2 separate regions of the Homo sapiens genome follow, and region 1 is linked to region 2. The links are contacts of gene promoters, found by promoter capture Hi-C in human tissues and cell types (Jung and others, 2019). All regions are on one chromosome and are shown on one strand. Each heading gives the region's core, a stretch centred on a gene start or on the middle of the fragment in contact. The rest is flanking DNA. Distances are from core to core; before and after follow the strand shown. Region 1 has its middle 5.1 kb from the start of RPS6KC1. Region 2 holds the start of VASH2 (vasohibin 2).

Evidence for each region. Contacts are between HindIII fragments. The study calls those that stand out against the background at their distance.
Region 1: a contact is called between a fragment that was not itself captured here and the fragment with the promoter of VASH2 in region 2, in 2 of the 25 tissues and cell types used here (pancreas and spleen).

Annotation. Positions count from the first base shown.
Region 1 is chr1:213,043,598-213,048,587 of GRCh38, reverse strand. No RefSeq gene overlaps it. Among named protein-coding and RNA genes, the nearest start is that of RPS6KC1, 5.1 kb to the left of the region's middle. RefSeq lists a cis regulatory region at 2,423-3,381. The HindIII fragment of the contact is 7,014 bases long and covers 1-4,990 here.
Region 2 is chr1:212,948,565-212,953,526 of GRCh38, reverse strand. VASH2 (vasohibin 2) reads right to left here and starts at 2,986. Exons shown (of 8, transcript NM_001301056.2): 1 at 2,787-2,986; 2 at 1,709-2,188. The coding sequence starts at 1,984. RefSeq lists enhancers at 2,281-2,330, 2,851-3,000. The HindIII fragment of the contact is 12,745 bases long and covers 374-4,962 here.

The DNA.
Region 1 (4,990 bases), core at 1,435-3,934, 95 kb before region 2:
CTCATCTCTACTAAAAATACAAAAATTAGCCGGCGTGGTGGCACATTCCTGTAACCCCAGTCACTTGGGAGGCTGAAGCACAAGAATCACTTGAACCAGGGAGGTGGAGGTTGCAGTGAGCCAAGATCATGCAACTGCACTCTAGCGTGGGCAATAGAGCAAGAATCTGTCTCAAAAAAAACAAAAAAGATTTCAACGCTCCTCTCTCGGTAATTGACAAAACATGTAAACAAATAAATGAATAAGGATACAGAAAACCTGAAAAGCTCTATCAACCAACTCTACCTGATAGACATTTATAGAACACGCCACTCAATAGTAGCAGAAAATGTTTGTTTCAAGTGTACAGAAAACATTCAACAAGTCAGGCCATATCCTGGGCTATAAAATAAATGTTAACAGGCTGGGCGCAGTGGCTTATGCCTGTAATCTCAGCACTTTGGGAGGCCAAGGTGGGCAGATAGCCTGAGGTTGGGAGTTGGAGACCAGTCTGACCAATGTAGAAAAACCCTGTCTCTACTAAAAATACAAAATTAGCCAGGCATGGTGGCACATGCCTGTAATCCCAGCTACTCAGGAGGCTGAGGCAGGAGAATCACTTGAACCCGGGAGGCGGAGGTTGCAGTGGGCTGAGATCGCACCATTGCACTCCAGCCTGGGCAACAAGAGCGAAACTCCGTCTCAATAAATAAATAAATAAATGTTAACAAAATTTTTAAAACCAATATAAATTGGATTTGCTCTGTGACCTCAGGGAATTAAACTAGAAGTTAATAATAGAAAGTTACCCATAAAATTCATGAATATTTGGAAAGTAAATACAATTCTTAAAGATGCCTGGATCAAAAATAAGTGACAAAAACTTTTAAACATATTTGGAATTGAATGAAAATGGAAGCATATCATAATGTGTGGGACACAGCTAATGCAGTGCTTAGAGGGAAATGTATAACCTTGATGGCTTATAGTAGACAAGAAGAAGGGTCATGAACTAAGCTTCTACTTTAAGAAGCTAGAAAAAAAAATATTGAACCCTAGAGCAAGAATAAGGAATAAAACATAAAGAAAAGAGTAATAACTCAATGAAATTTTTTTAAAAAGAGAAAAACAATGAAATAGAAAAAGAGAAAAGCAATAAAGAAAAACCAATGAAACCAAAAACTGATTCTTTGTTAGGGGGAACTCCAAAAGTTCACTGCTCCACATAAACTATGAAAAAACTAACAAAAACTCTCAGTATTAACTCTTTCAGAACTCTGGAAACTAACCAAAAGCTTACAGCAACCCAGGAACACTTATTTAAGAAAATAGGCTGAATCTCAGCTGGGCGTGGTGGCTCATACCTGTAATCCCAACACTTGGGGAGGCGGAGGCGGGCGGATCACGAGGTCAGGAGTTTGAGACCAGCCTGGCCAACATGGTAAAACCTCGTCTCTACTAAATAGTCAAAAAATTAGCCGGGTGTGGTGGTGGGCACTTGTAGTCCCAGCTATTCGGGAGACTGAGGCAGGAGAATTGCTTGAACCTGGGAGGCGGAGGTTGCAGTGAATTGAGATCACGCCACTGCACTCCAGCCTGGGCGACAGAGCGAGACTCTGTCTCAAAAAAGAAAAAAAAAAGAAAGAAAGAAAATAGGCTGAATCTCTAAGAACAGCAAACTTTCTGGCATTTTAACTAACCCTAGGCCCATCCCCTGCTCCTCAACTCAGGGATATCCTTGAAAATAACAGCCAACATTCCTACAACTAGTTCTGAGGGAGAAGAGACCTCATTTTTATAGAATAGTAATTATTACTATAAATAAATAAATATCTGGTCTTATTTGTCTGGTGGCTTTCAGAAGACCAACTCAAAAGGCTTATCTTCACCTTGTCCCAACGCTAAAGCCATTAACCAGGGGACATTTTTCCACAAATATTTATAGGTAAATGTGTTTGTCTTTGCTCCCTGAAGTAATGGATAACAGCTGAGCAAACAATCGACTGCCCAAGAAGCTTGAGAGAAAAGGCTGGAGAATGAGAAGCTTTGGAAGAATAAGGGCCTTGAAAAGTTCCAATATATTCTTGAGAATCTAGAAGACCATGCACATGACCAGAGCTACGCAGATGCTCAGGAAAGACTTGAGAAGGCTTTAAGCTTTCACATCTAGCCAAACTTGAAGCTCTGTACAAGCAAGATGAGAAGACTAAGGCAGGGTTGTAAACTGCCTGGCTGAGTGTTGAAGATGTACACCTGCATAAAAACAGGGCCTCTGCAGGGTGCAGTGGCTTACACCTATAATCCCAGCACTTTGAGAGGCTGAGGCAGGTGGATCACTTGAGCCCAGGAGTTCAAGACCAGCCTGGGAAACATAGTGAGGCCCCATCTCTACAAGAAAATGCAAAAAAAAAAAAAAAAAAAAAAAAAAAAAATAGCAGGGCATAGTGGTGTTGGGAAAAGGGCTTGTGGAGTGCCTGTATAAACTGACCATAAAAATATGGACAATAGGTTGTGGAAAGCCACAAAAGGCCTCTGAGGAGGAAAACCTCCTAATTGCCATCAAGTTCCCATGCTCAGAGAGAGACCAGCTGTCTTATCTGTAAACACTGTGTTCAGGGAGAAAGACACTCCTTTAAAACACTGAAATGTAGACAGACATGCAGGCTCCTAGTTAAGCCGCTCCCACTAGCTACTCTCCGATAAGTTAAAGATATGCTGTTTGAGCATAAAGGAGATTCATTTAAACCGCTATTACTATAAATTACGCCTATGACGCACTGCAACCCTTTCACTGTTTCGCCTTGAACATGTGCTTCTTAGATCTAAGTGATTGTACTCAATAAATAGTGTGGAGACCAGAGCTCTGAACTGTTTGCAGCCTCCATTTTGCAACTGGCCCCCTGGCTCCCACCTTTACAAACTCTCAACCTGTCTCTTCTCATTCAGGAAAAGGGCTTGTGGGGTGCCTGTATGAACTGGCCATAAAAATATGGGACATTAAGTTGTGGAAAGCCGCAAGAGGCCTCTGAGGAGGAAAGCCTCCTAATTGCCATCATGTTCCCATGCTCAGAACTAGACCCGCTCTCTTATCTGTAAACACTGTGTTCAGGGAGAAAGACACTCCTTTAAAACACTGAAATGTAGACAGACATGCAGGCTCCTAGTTAAGCCGCTCCCACTAGCTGCTCTCTGATAGTTAAAGATACGCTGTTTGAGCACAAAGGAGATTCATTTAAACCGCTATTACTATAAATTACGCCTATGACGCACTGCAACCCTTTCACTGTTTCGCCCTAAAAATCTGCTTCTTAAATCTAAGTAATTGTACTCAATAAATAGTATAGAGACCAGAGCTCTAAACCTTTTGCAGCCTCCATTTTGCAACTGGCCCCCTGGCTCCCACCTTTATAAACTCTTAAGCTGTCTCTTCTCATTCCTTTGTCACCACCGGACTTCGAGTACCCTACAGGTGGTGTTGAGGCTGGTCCCCAACATAGTGGCGTACACCTGTAGTCCCAGCTACTCAGGAGGCTGAAACAAGAGAATTGCTGGAGCCTGGGAGGCACAGGTTGTGGTAAGTTAAGATCATGCCACTGCATGCCAACCTGGATGATATAGCAAGACGGTGTCTCAAAATAAATAAGTAAATAAAAATAAAATAAGGCCAGGCGCGGTGGCTCGTGCCTATAATCCCAGCACTTTGGAGGCTAAGGTAGGTGGATCCCTTGAGCCCAGGAGTCTGAGACTAGCCTGGGCAATATAGTGAGACCCTGTCACCGTAAAAAATAGAAATAAAATAAAATAAAAACAGGGCCTCTCTGCAAAGACTGGGAGCTGTTTTTTTGGTTCCAGCACCTAAGGAAATCACTGTCCAATCATTTGCTGTCCAATCTCTGCCTAATTAATAAGCTAACGGAACAGAGACTTTAGTGGTCACACACAACAAATAACAGATTTAACAGAATTAGTTCAGAAAACTAAATAAACAACTACTACAATAAGCACTAACAATGAACTCTAGGAAGGAGAGATAATCTGACTTTCAGAGTTGTCATATTAGAATATTTAAAATAATTAATTTTTCAACAAAAATTTATGAAGCATTATAAAAAACAAAAAGTGTGACCCATACACAGATAAAAAAGCAATCAATTAAAAACTATGTCCATGAGGAAGCTCAGATGTTGGTCTTACTAGACATAAATTTTAAATTGGCTACTTTAAATACATCCAAAAAGCTAAAGAAAACCACGTCTAAAGGAACGAAAGACAAAGCCAAAACCGACTCAAGAAGACAAAAATGTCAGAATAGACCAGTAAAGACATTAAGTCTGTATCAAAAAAATGTCAACAAACAAAAAGCCTGGGATTAGAAGCTTTTTCCAATGAATTCAGTGAAACTGAGTGTTAAAGAAGAATTAACGTCAATCTTTCTCAAACTCTGTCAAATAAAAGAAGAAAAGAGAATACTTTCCAACTCATTTTATGAGGCCAGTATTACCCAGGTACCACAGCCAAATAATCACAAGAAAAAAAATTTCCTTGTGAATATCCTCAACTGAAAACTCACAGACCAAATCTAGCAGCACAGTAAAAGGATTACATGACATGAACATGTGGGATTTATCTCCAAAATGCAAAGTTGGTTCAATATATGAAAGTAAATCAATGTAATACACCATATTGATAGTATAAAGGGAAAAAATACAGGATCATCTCAATAGATGCAGAAAAGACATTTGACAAAATCCAACATCCTTTCATGTTAAGAATACACAACCAACTAGGAATAGAAGGGGAACTTCCTCAAACTGAAAAAGGGCACTGATGAAAAACCCACAGCTAACATCATTCTCAATGGTGAAAAACTGAAAGCTTTCCCCCTAAGCAGGAGCAAGACAAGGATGTCCGCTCCTCCACATCCATTCAATATTGTATTGGTAGTTCTGGCGGAGGCAATTAGACAAGAAAAAGAAATAAAAGTCATCCAGGTTGGAAAGGTAGAGGTGAA
Region 2 (4,962 bases), core at 1,737-4,236:
AGCAAAGGAAGTTGACAATGCTCTGCCCTGATTCAAAAGGCAAGAGGAACACAACAATCAGTGATGAAATGTGATTTGCGGGTGGGAGGGTGCTGCGAGGAGGATTTATGGTTGGTCTAAGAGCTTCCTAACAATCGACTCTGGCCAGGCCTAAGATCAGCTGCCCTGGGAAGCAGCAAGCTCCCCATTCCCAAGAGGTCTTCAGAAAGAGGAGGGGATTCTGTTGAGAGGTGGGAGACTGGTCTCTACAAACAGCAAAATTCCATGATTCCCACATAGAGAATGCACCCCCCCCCGCGCACCCGCATACATGGTTGGAGGAAGGATAAAAGCACAATTAGAGGCAGGGTTGGTACGGGTGCTACTAAGAAAGGCAGCATGGGACAGTAGGAACAGGCGTTTTTTTCCTTGTGGTCACTTTTCTTCCAAGTTTAAGGGCTCTCGGCTCCTCACTGGAGGAAAAATTCTCAAGTCAGAACTGCAAACCAGGAACAAAGGTTGTTCTCATATTCAAGAACTCAGCAAGGGTAATTATGGTTGACACTAAAGCAGGCAAGATTCTAGTTGGGCACAATGAAGATCTCCTTGACCAGCAGAGTAATAGAACACTGTAACTGACTGCAGCAGGAAGTTTAGAGGCTCTGTCACTTCTCCAAGGACACACACAGCTTTCTGGCCTGCAGGCTCAGATGCTCAGCTGTCACCAGGCTGGGGAATCAACCAGATGGCCTTCCGGGTCTCAAGTCTGGCATTCCTAGACCTGCCCAGGAATCTTCTCAGCCGTACCAGCGTCCCCAGGGTCCAGGGGAAACCATCCGCCACGCTATAACCCCGAGGCTCGGCAGCATTTCTCCCCAGTTTGCATTTTGATGTTTCATATAACGTATCTACTCCCACCAGGGTACATCTCCCTCCCTCGGTAAAGATATCCTTAGCCACCAAACCCAAATGGCTCACTGGCTTCTCTCCAAGGCAAAAAGAGAGTTTCACTCCTCATCCTCTTTTTCTATCCAGTGAGACTAATTCATCATGTGTACTGGAAAGTCCCTTTTAAGTCTCAGCCAAAAGTCTTTCTTTTTTCTTGGAGCACAAATAAGCTGGGAAGAGAGAGAGAGAGTTCACCGTTTTGCAAGTTTCAGAGGTGAAAGTCACTGTCACACACACACACACAAAAAAACCAGAAAGAAAAGAAAAAAAACTGGCAAAAAGTCTGGAAATTATTCACACTGAGAAGTCTGACTGGTTGATTTCAAATTCATTCACAGCTTAATAAATCATTTGCTGGGGGAAGAGGGGAGCAGAGGAGGAGCAAGACACTCCAAAGAGAACAAGCAGGGTGGGATCCCTGGGGTCTGTGCATTCTTTGGCATCGCTGGTACCTGGTGGCTCTAGCTTTTGCTGAAGGAGGATGTATGTGGGGGTGAGTAAATAATAGAGTTTGGCTGGAGCTTCAAAGACACCTTGGCACAATCCAATTACACAGTCCCAGGATAGCAAGCCCGCTACCTCTCCCTTCCCCATTTCTTAGGCTTCCAATCTAAATATCTCAATTAGAAAAGGGCTGGCAGGAAGGAATGGGGAGAGGAAGGGAGTTTGTAGCAGGACTAGGAAAATGGAGATTGCCTGTGTTTGCTATGTATAGGCTGAAACGGTCCCATCGCTGCCTACCTACCCCCAGCCCCCCAACTCCGCCCTGGAAGCCACTGACCTTTGCCAAGAAGGCGGCGTTCCTGATGGCGCCCACCATTTCTCCCCCCTTAGGGTGCACCTTGGCCACGTGCATCCACATGCGCTCCCAGGTGTGGCTGTCGATGGGGAAGCCGCTCTTGTTGACGTGGAACAGCACCCCGCCGTCTTTGTCCTCCTCCTCTGAGCCCCCGCTGGTGGCGAGGCTCACGGGCCGCGCGTGGCTGCTCCGGGACCGGGTGCCTTTGGCGCCTTTGGGGTGGGGGCAGCGGTGAGTGTCGGCCGCGGAGCCGGTCATGGTGGGGCCTGGGCGGGGAGCGAGGTACTGGGGGCGCGCGGCGGCGGCAGCGGCGGCGGCGGCGGGGGGCGTGTGCGCGCGGGCGCGGCGAGGGGATCAGCGCCCCGCGGGGGCGGCCTTCTCCATGCCTCTCGCTGCGGCAGGACTCACCAAGGGGGAGCGGCGGCGGGAGCTCCGCGGAGGCTCCCTGCTTACCGGCGGTGCCTGAAATCAGCGGAGACACAGCTGACACCACAGCTAAGTGGACGCACAGCGGAACCGAGTGAGGGGTCCCGGAGTGTCTCCACGACACTCCCCGCTCCCCCCTGCACGCTGACAGCCTCCCTGAGAATCGATGACGGGCTTCCAGCCCTGCGATTACCTAGAAAGGCAGCTCAAAATGTGCCACGAAGCTTCACACACACCTAAACCCGGGGGGTTGGGGATGGAGGGGCACAAGGAGCTTGGGGGATGCGGAGCGCAAGATGTGGGGAGAAGAAAGACAGCTTGTGTAGCATGAAGGAACAGGAGGTTCCCGCAAGGCTCCACACATTCCTGGGTCCTCAGATGTGGCCAAGAGAGGAGGGGAGCCACGAACGTGCTGGCATGTGAGCGCCCAGAGCTGGCGCGAGGGCGCTGCAGCAGCCTTGGCTTGCAAGGCGGCCCGCTTTCTTCCAGGAAGCCCTCCCGGACCCCGGCGGGGATCTAGTGGAAAGAGCTCCATCCGCCCCCTTTTCCCCGAGTTCCAGCGCCTATCACCGGGAGGGACTGGCTGCAGGCGGGCGGCGCGCAGGAAGGGCGCGCGGCAGCTCCAAGATCCTACCTCGGGACGGTTGGCTTCATGGCTGCAGAGCCTCTCCGGGCGGCGGGAGAGCAGGGGCTGCTGCTGCTGCTGCTGGGCCTGGGGCTGGGGCTGGGGCTGCTGGGGCTTGCTGGGGCCGTCGCCTCATTCCATGTCCCATTCTCGAATGTTATTCTGTGACATATAACCAAGTCACCCGGGCAGCCGCCGATGTTCCGAATGCGTCTATTGGCCACCGCAACAAAGAGGGGCGGGTCCCGGGCTCGGGACTCTACAACCCCGGGCTCCGCGACGCTCTGATTGGCTCCAGGGGTTCTCTGGCGGGAGGGGACAGGAGTAGGGGGAGCCTGGCGGCCACGCGAAATCCGATCGCTGTGGTGTCCTGAGAGCCCCGCGGGCTGGAGCGTTTGGCCATGGGACTTAAGATCGAGTTTCCCCAGGGGTCGTGGCACTTCGAGGGTTTGCAACTGTGGAAGCAGAGGAGAAACAAAACCACCCGAGAAGTGACCCCGCGGAAGCAGAGGGTTTGGCATCAGAAGAGCATTCCCTGAGGGACGCTGGACACACTTACCTGCCTCTACCCGGGATGATGAGTTGTTCATCCTCTACCTGGGATGATGAGGGGCTGTTCATACCTATGCGTGAAATTAAATCTTTTTTAAATCCCGCATTTAAAAATTCCTCAAAATTAACAAGTGGGTGCAGCTTTGGATCCTCTGGTATTAGTCATGGTTAATAAAGTCCCTTTAAGCCCAAGTTGAGAGGAGACAATAAAACTCAAGAGGTCAGGCAGGCCCTGACTGTTCTGCCACAGCTGTTGAGTGAGAGGAGGGATGGAGAGATGCTTCCAAACCATGGTGAAGTGGGTGGCTATCCCACACTCACTACTGAAACACCTTCTCTTTCTTTTTCTTTAAGAAAGAGGAGAGCAGGTTGAGGTGGGAAGAGCACCAGACTGCTGACCTGAAGGCTGGCTCCTGGTCCAGGTTTGTCACTTTGCTCAGCTGTGTGACCCTGGACAAGCCACTTCCCTGCTCTGGGCCTTAGCTTCTCTTTCTGAAAGGAGAGCAGACCTCCCGCTCTCCAGGGTCTGTTCTGGCTGTAAGGTTCTGTGATTCCCTGACTTCCTCTCTTGTGACACTGAGGATCCTGGCCATAGCATCCTTTCTCTTTAAACTGCAGGCCAGCAGGCCAGCTCTGAGCAAAGCAGTTATGAGACCTATGCTAAGTGAACCTTGAATTAAGAAGACAGTTGTCAAAGTGCCACTGATGGCGGGTCAGTTTCTGGATGCTTATCCTGACAAGTTGCCTGTCATGGAACTGGAACTTCTCTTCCACAGGAGGGCAGAGACCCCTGAGGGGTAGTTGAGAGCCAGGGCTTGGGTGAGGAGACCTGGATTCTGGACTTAGCCCTGCACTGCTCCCTGAGACAGAGCCCATGCCAAGAACTTTATAGATTCAATAATGAGAATAGGGCAGACGTGGTGCCTCACACCTTTAAACCCAGCACTTTGGGAGAAAGAGGAGGAAGGATTACTTGAGGCCAGGAATTAGAGACTGGACCAACATAGCGAGACCTTGTCTCTACTAAATAAATATTTTGAAATTAGCCAGATGTGGTGGCACACACCTGTAGTCCCAGCTACTCAAAAGGCTGAAGTGGACATGTAGAATGAAACTGGATCCTCGTCTCTCACCTTACACAAAAATCAACTCCAGATGGATCAAAGACTTAAGTCTAAGACCTGAAACCATAAAAATTCTAGAAGATAACATGAGAAAAACACTTCTAGACATTAGCTCAGGCAAAGAAATCATGACTAAGACCTCAAAAGCAAATGTAACAAAAATGAAAATAAATAAATGAGACCTAATTAAACTAAAAAGGGTCTGCACAGCAAAAGAAATAATCAGCGGAGTAAACCGACAATCCACAGAGTGCGAGCAAATATTCACAAACTGTGCATCTGACAAAGGACCAGTATCCAGAATCTACAAGGAACCCAAACAGATCAGCCAGATAAAACCAATCCCATCAAAAAATTGGCAAAGGACATGAATAGACAATTTTCAAAAGAGGATATACAGTCAACAAACATATGAAAAAATGTTCAACATCACTAATTATCAGAGACATACAAATTAAACCACCATAAGATACCATCTTACTCTTGCGAGAATTGTCATAAAAGTCAAA